2 separate regions of the Homo sapiens genome follow, and region 1 is linked to region 2. Evidence: promoter capture Hi-C in human tissues and cell types (Jung and others, 2019). All regions are on one chromosome and are shown on one strand. Each heading gives the region's core, a stretch centred on a gene start or on the middle of the fragment in contact. The rest is flanking DNA. Distances are from core to core; before and after follow the strand shown. Region 1 overlaps C2orf80 (chromosome 2 open reading frame 80). Region 2 holds the start of METTL21A (methyltransferase 21A, HSPA lysine).

Region 1 (3,944 bases), core at 1,423-3,922, 560 kb after region 2:
TTATACATTTATACACTAAATAAATTATCTCTAAAAATCCCTTCTATTGACAATCCCAGGTCACCCTTACCTTGATGGTACCAGAATCGGCAGAAGAATCAGCCCCATAAATTTTAAAGACTTCCTCAATCGGGATACTGTTCTGTTAAACAACAACAGCAATAACAAAGTATGATCATACCATGGCTTTTCTTTTATTATAAAACAAAGCTAATATAGCTCCAGTATGTCTAAAACTGTGCTTGGGTATCATAAGTATTAAATACAGTAAATAACTTCTGATCAATGGATAAATCAGTTTTCCAGATACCAATTAGTTGTGTCTCTCATTCTTTTCTTTTTTCTTTGCCTCTTAAATAAATGTTTTCACATACAGTGTAGAAGTTAGTCTTTTTATTACTTTAAAAAACGAAACATTTACTATCAATAACTCCTAAACATTTAGAAACATTGGTTGAAAAATAATGTAAATATTCATTACTGTAAAAATGCTCAGAGTAGATATGAAATATTCATATAGGCAGATAGTATTCTTTTCCTTACCATTAAGATTCCAGCATAAGATGATAAAATCATAGCTTCTCGTTCTCTACGATTTGGATATATGGGTCTGCCATGGAGTGGTATTTTCCTAATGGGGAATAGGAAATACAAGTGGAAGATTTATTCTTGTTCTTTTTGATGCCTGCTAAGGTTGTGATGATAATCGATAAGTAATCTGCAATGGCTGTGTGCTATCTGCTTATTTATATTAATAAAATTGGTATGATTGTTCCTCCATCGGTGAAATCCACACTTTGAATTTTTAATCTTCCAATAATGGTGATGAATTTGGCCTCATCTATCCATGTTTTCACAGCAATCAAAGATTGGCAGACTGGCCACTGTGGTGGATGTTGATGGTTTTGCAAACCATTATCCTTTCCCTTTCTTGTGACAATTTGCTTTGGGGGAACTACCTAACCCCACTGTAAGCCTATATGCTTCTAGGGAAGCTGACTACACCCCTAGATTCCAAAGATGAAAAACACACTGTGGACTGAGCTGTCAGCGTATTCCACCTCCCCTGCGCTGCCACTGTCCAACCCTAGACAAGCCAGGTAACAGCCACTGAGACACAATTGGGTGATTAAAAAAAAATATATCCACCCTTCCCCGATAATGAAATGGGCTGAAACTAGGAATGGTGTTCACCCTGAGGAAATGGAGTCAGGAGGTAGATCCAGATGACATTGTTTGAGTTTTGAATTAAACCATGCCTAACACAGTCCTACCCATGGACTTTTCAGATACAAGGGCAATAAAATCTACTCCCCAGCTTTTTTGCTTAAGGCTGTTCAAATTGGATTTTCAATTGGATTTTCAAATTGGTCATTACAGCTAAACCCTAACTGTTACAACTCTCTAGGATCAGGTGTGTAGTCCAGAGCCATTGAGTAGAAAAAAAATAACAGGCCTCCAGAATAAGCTATTTGATCCTGTCCTCATTAGTTCTGTGTTCTTACCAATTGAGTGAGTCTGCCTGAACACTCCCTATACATGACAGAAAATGCTGGTAATCCCAGAAAGAAAATTATTCTGCGCTTCAAACAGCTCAGCTCAGATACATGTCTGCCTAAATGCTTAAGAATTTGTTTGGTAGTCCTTAGGAAAAGGTTACAGTCTTTACCCATAGAACTGACTGTTTTAAATCATGGCATGTACATAGTAAAGCAGTCATGTTTCTAAGACAGAGCATTCTTTATTTTTGAGATGGAGTCTCACTCTGTTGCCCAGGCTGGAGTGAAGTGGCACAATCTTGGCTCACTGCAACCTCTGCCTCCTGGGTTCAAGTGATTCTCCTCTCCTGCCTCAGCCTCCTGAGTACAGGTGTGCGCCACCACGCTAGGCGAATTTTTGTATTTTTAATAGAGGCGAGGTTTTACCATATTGTCCAGGTTGGTCTTGAACTCCTGGCTTCAAGTAATGAGTCTGCCTCAGCCTCCCAGAGTGCTGGGATTACAGGCCTGAGCCACCGCGCCCGGCCCCTTAAGACACAACATTCTGTGCAAGAAAGTCTTTCATCTCACTGAAGTCAATTAGTATAGAGATGCAAAACATGGAAACATGTAACTTCTTCAAGTTGGCAACTGTTCAGGTTCCTCAGGTGTCTCGTTGAAGAGGGATATTCACCCAGTAGTGTTTTCAAATCAAAGTGCCTCATGATGGAAGATGTTAGGGCTGGAACTTCCTCTATCATTAATCATAGGCACAAATTAAAGAGGAAAGCAACAAACCTACTTCAACTTACAGTTCCTCCCACTCCAGCCAAGTTAAGTCTTCTGAGGGATCCAGCCATTGCAAAGCAACACTGATGGCCAAGTCATAGTGTGCCTGGGAGCAGGAAGCACAGAGAGCAAAGAAACAGGCTTAGACATTGGCCGAAGTACTCCCTGGACCCAATGACAATGGGACTGCTAAGCCTATTCTAGTCTGTCATGTCCAAAATGGGAAGGATCATTAGCTTTAATAACCTGATGCTCGGCCAGATTTTTTTTTTTTTTTCTGAGACCTCGCCTCACAGGGATGAATCAGCCAGAAATATTTTGGGATCTTGAGACATTAAATTTATTTCCACTAGAGCAGTTATCTGATTTCTGTGATTTGGAAAAGAAAGGAGAGATCAGTGAAGAATAATAAACTTGGAATCAGAAAATCTGGGCTCAAATCTAGGTATTGCCAACAACTCACGGAATATTCTTAGGTGAGTAACTGATGCTTTCTGGGCCTCAGTTTCCCTAAATTTTAACATAGTAAAAGGTAAGGGTGGGGGAACAGGGCTGCAGGGAACAATTTCTGATTCTGTGAGTAGAATGTCAGAAATGTGCTTCCAGGGGTACAGGGGCAGTGTGGTGGGAATTTGGAGGGATGGGCCGTTTTATGTCTACCTGGGGAGATAGCTAGAATCCCAAGAAGCTTCAGAGAGGGAAGCTGCATTGGAGCTGGGGCTTGTGGGATGAGAATGTCTACAGATGGGGAAGGAAATCACAGGTAGAGGAACTAGCATGAGGCAAGGACGGAGCGGGCGGGGAAGGGGGCAGACCTGAGTAAGTGACTTGCTGAGAGTTTCACACGCACGTATAGTAAAAAGCTGAGAACCAATGCGGAGGCTTATTTTTATCATGGTGACCACCTTTTCCTAGTAATTCCTAAGAGTTCTTGTTCAGTAAGCATATTTACCATTTGTCTATCAAAATATTCCTTCTCTCCTTTCAGTCCCCACACACAGAAAACGGAAGATTGGTTTTGTTTTTAATTTTTGTAGAGGCGTTCTGAAGTTTTAACATTTTTAAACGGTGGAATTATTTCTTCCAGGGACTGAACCAAACTGAACAGTGAACCTAAATGAATAAATAAACAGGAAGAATGGGACCATGACCAAATGTTGCAACCGGATCCAAAGTTTGATGCCTTGGCATCACTTGTTTGGTCATTTGAAATGCAAATTCCTAGGCCGCGGGGGCGCCCCCCTCACCCCCGCCCCCCTTCACCTCCTGAATCAAAACAGCCTTGTAATACGACCTCATTAAAGTTTGAGAAGCACTGCTCTAATCTACTTAATTTCTCTGTTTAATATGTGTACACAGAGAATAAGGCTTAACTATTTCCTTAGCTCCAGGGTAGTTTTGAAAGCCAGTGAGCCTGGCTCTACTTTAGTCGGAGAAGAAGAGGAGAGGGGAGTGGAGGGAGAGAGTCTTTTTTATTAGTGTAAGGATAGTAAATGGGCAGTGAAAAAACTGAGGGTTTGCTAATTTCTTTTGAGTTAGATCTTTATATGGTTTCTTCCTCAATTTCTGTGACGTGAACTTTCAGATCCTGAGTCTGGGCTTCGAAATAAATAACACCAAGGATTTTTAGGGTTACTTAATTTATTTGGTTTTCTCTCACTAATGCAAATGGTAAAG
Region 2 (3,769 bases), core at 988-3,487:
GCCTCCCAAACTGCTGGGATTACAGGTGTGAGCCACCACACCAGGCCTATATCTTTATTATTACCAGAGTAACTTCCATGTAGTTACCTGGACTGGATTCCTAGAAGTGGTATTACTACATTAGAATATATTGAGATTTTTATTCCTACGTGTTTAACATCCCTAACAATGTTAAAACTGTCAAACTGTATTTATGCCAATCATGCATTCAACATTAATTGAGTTCCCACTGAGTCCTAGGTGTGGGGCTAGATGCTGAGGGCTCAAGTCAGAACAGGGCAGGGAGAGGAAGAAGTTAAAAAGCAGTTACAATTTTTTAACAATTACAACTATGGAAAACTTAAAGAAAACACATAATCTCCATTTTGGGCTCTGCCACTTTACAATACTCTGTGAAATAAAGAGACTAACTCGGCTGGGCGCTGTGGCTCACGCCTGTAATCCCAGCACTTTGGGAGGCTGAGGCAGGTGGATCACTTGAGGTCAGGAGTTCCAGATCAGCCTGGCCAACATGTCGAAACCCCATCTCTACCAAAAAATACAAAAATTAACCAGGTGTGGTGGCGTGCACCTGTAGCCCCAGTTACTCCAGAGGCTGAGGTGGGAGAATCACTTGAACCCAGGAAGCGGAGGCTGCATTGAGCCAGGATCGCACCACTGCACTCCAGCCTGGGCAACAGAACGAGACTATGTCTCAAAAGAAAAAAAGACTAACTCGTGTCCAAAGCAGTTGGGGGCTTTCCTTCCTATCCTCTCCGACAAGTCATTAACTTTCCTCAGCTTTCATTTACACCTTTAAAATGTAATCTATGTGGAGGGACAAGAGGAGTGACTAAGGGATACGGGTTTGAGAGTGGCAGTGATAGTAAAACTTTTAAAATTGAAGCGGTAATAGTTGCACTACTCTGTGAATATACTGTATTTTTAAAACCGCACTGAATTGTGCACTTTAAATAGGTAAAGTGTATGCTATGTGAATTATATCTCAATAAAGCTGTTCTAAAAAAAATAAAAAATAAAAGCCAGTCTTGCAAGTGTGAACGTTTTCAGAGGTCCCCCAGGGCTTACTTACCGCATCCCAAACCACCGCTGCGACTCCCAGGTGTCTCCAGTCCTGCCGGATCTGGATCGTGTGGTTTGCAAAGGAAAAAGTTGCAAGAGGCTTGTGGAATTTCTGCAACCCAAATTCCGTGGTCTCCTCATAGGGCACGAGGGCCATTCCGCCTGCACCCCGCCCTCTGCTCAGACCTGCCGTGCAAAAGAATCCTGGGTGACGCTCTGGCCAAAAGATACATTATCTGTTCTTAACTAACTCCAAATGCTTTTAAGGTCGTTTACAAGTTCAAAAGAAAAAAAGAAACAGGTGGAGGAAGCCTTTGTCCAATTTCTTTTGCATGGCTCTTCCGAATCTGAGTGAGATTTGGCTCGGAATTTGTGTCAACGGATGTGTTTGGGGAAGAAGAAAAAAAAAGCCCAGAACATTCCAACTTCCGCAGAATACCCTATACACTGCACTGCTACCACTCCGTGAATTCAGAACTACACAAGCGGCGGAAGCGGCGGTGATCGCCCAGGGCCCCAGAGCAGCGCGGAAAGCAGCGCTTCCAACCCAGACCCGGGCGCCCGGACTGCAGCTGCAGCCAGCCGGGCGGCCCGGGTTCTTTCGCTACGGTTTCGCTACCCACCTCCCCTCCTCCATCGGCTGCTTCGATAGTGATAACAATGGGACAGAACCTGCCCTTAGACTGGGTGTTAGCGGTTTGATAAACCAGAAATACATGGTCGCCGCAGTTCCGTCTCCCCGACCCTGGAAGTGAGCGACACTGGGGGCCTCCAAGCGGCTCGCGGGGACAGCGGGGACTCGGAGGCCTCCCCGAACTCCCCCTATAGCTGCCCCCCACTCACCCCTCTCCCGGGACGACCAGTGCGCCCTTCCTGCCCGGGGGCCCCGGAGCTGCGGCAACCCTCCAGGGGTGAGAGGGAGACCAGGCGAGGGGGGTCACAGGGCCTCTTAGGATCCCCAGGCCATACGGGGCGCCGTGAGCTGCCCGGCGGAGCACCCAGGGCTCGCCCAGGCCGGGCTGAGGCGCCGCCACGCCGGTACTTACGGCCCGGGAGGCGGTCCCGCGTGGAGCGCGCGCTCCGCTTTCCCCGCCCCGGGCTGGCTGCGAAAACCGCCGGCCTTAAAGAGCCCGCGACGCGGGGGCGGGCGGCCCCGGCCCGGAGCCACGCATTTCCGGTCTCCCGGCACCCAGCCTCCGGCAGGTGCCCCCGGAGCTCACGGCGAGGGCGGGGCCGGGCCGTGGCGCGGTGGAGGAGTGACGTTGCGGGAGGGGGGACCGGGGCTTTCCCTCGTGCGTCCCCAGGGTACACGGACGACTTAATCCGTTTCCCCCGCCGCCGAGGGAGGCGCTGTGGGGGCGGGAGCAAGAGTGAGATCGGGGTGCCGAACTGCCGCGGGTGCACAGGGAGAGCATGGGGTGCCCTGGGCTCTCCTAGCGGGAGAGAAAAGCCACCCACCTGGCGCTGAATGTGCCTCTCGACCTTTTCTATCATGTGCTCCGCCGCTCTCTGCCTCTGACTTTGTCGCTTGCGCGTTGTGCCTGTTTTTTAAAGGTGGCGCGTTAGCGGATGATGGAGACAGCTCGCTCCGAAGAAGGCATGGTCACTCTAGTCCCCGCGTCTCCACGGTGGGGTCAGAAGCGGCGTAATAGCCCGCTTGGCGGCAATCGAGTGGAAAAGTCACAAAACCCTTTTCAACTAAAGCACAGTGGGGGAAGTGAACACGTGGCGCCCGAGTCCAAGTTTTTAAAGTGGGGCGGGGGTCGGCGGGCTCTGGCTGCAGTCGGAAGCGCGGAGCTCTGGGCGTGCGCTCGGCTCCAGCCCCGGCCCCAGGCGGCGCTGCAGACTCCAGTGCCCCAGTCTCCCTCCTCCCGATGCCAAGACGCACCTGCCCGTGAGGACCCACGCTGGACGTGGAAGGTGCCGAGGGCCTGGTACCCTGGCCGCAGGCCCTGGCAGAGCGCGCGGCTGGAGTGGGTCCATTGAGTGGGACCGTGCGGGGACCGGCATCCTCCCGGGGCAGGCTTCTTTTTCCTCCTGGGGCCCCTCGCCCCACACCGCCCGCTGCGCTCTCAGCGCGGCTGCACGTTAGAACCAGCTGGGGTAAACCTCCCTTACCAGTCCCCCGCCCCAAGAGCTGGCCATGGGAGGGGGCCCGAGCGCTGATTTTTTTGTTTGGTTTTTTGCTTTTGTTTTTGTTTTTGTTTTTGTTTTGAGACGGAGTCTCTCTCTGTCGCCCAGGCTGGAGTGCAAGGGCGCGAACTCGGCTCACTGCAGTCTCCGCCTTCCGGGTTCAAGCGATTCTCCTGCCTCATTCTCCCGTGTAGCTAGGATTACAGGCCTGCGCCAGCACGCCAGCTAATTTTTGTGGGATTTTGTTTGTTTGTTTGAGACGGAGTCTTGCTCTGTCGCCAGGCTGGAGTGCAGTGGCGCGATCTCGGCTCACTGCAGCCTCCACCTCCCGGGTTCAAGCAGTTCTCCTGCCTCAGCCTCCAAAGTAGCTGGAATTACAGGCGCCCGCCGCCACACCCGGCTTTTTTTGTGTTTTTAGTAGAGACGGGGCTTCACCATGTTGGCCAGGCTGGCCTTGAACTCCTGATCTCCGGTGATCCGCTCATCTCAGCCTCCCAAAATGCGGGATTACAGGTGTGAACCACTGCCACCTCCCCCACCCCTACCGCCCGAGCGCTGATTTTTTTTTTTTATT

Evidence for each region. The method cuts DNA at HindIII sites, captures the fragments that hold promoters and counts their contacts. A contact is called where the count stands out against the background at its distance.
Region 1: a fragment that was not itself captured here is called in contact with the fragment with the promoter of METTL21A in region 2 in 1 of the 25 tissues and cell types used here (neural progenitor cells).

What each region holds. Positions count from the first base shown.
Region 1 is chr2:208,180,675-208,184,618 of GRCh38, forward strand. It overlaps C2orf80 (chromosome 2 open reading frame 80), which reads right to left. Exons shown (of 9, transcript NM_001099334.3): 4 at 2,291-2,373; 5 at 544-631; 6 at 71-142. Among named protein-coding and RNA genes, the nearest start is that of C2orf80, 7.4 kb to the right of the region's middle. The HindIII fragment of the contact is 7,429 bases long and covers 1-3,944 here.
Region 2 is chr2:207,623,157-207,626,925 of GRCh38, forward strand. It overlaps METTL21A (methyltransferase 21A, HSPA lysine), which reads right to left and starts at 2,238. Exons shown (of 4, transcript NM_001127395.5): 1 at 1,906-2,238; 2 at 1,073-1,248. The coding sequence starts at 1,219. RefSeq lists a silencer at 1,834-2,433 and enhancers at 2,704-3,408, 3,409-3,769. The HindIII fragment of the contact is 12,030 bases long and covers 1-3,769 here.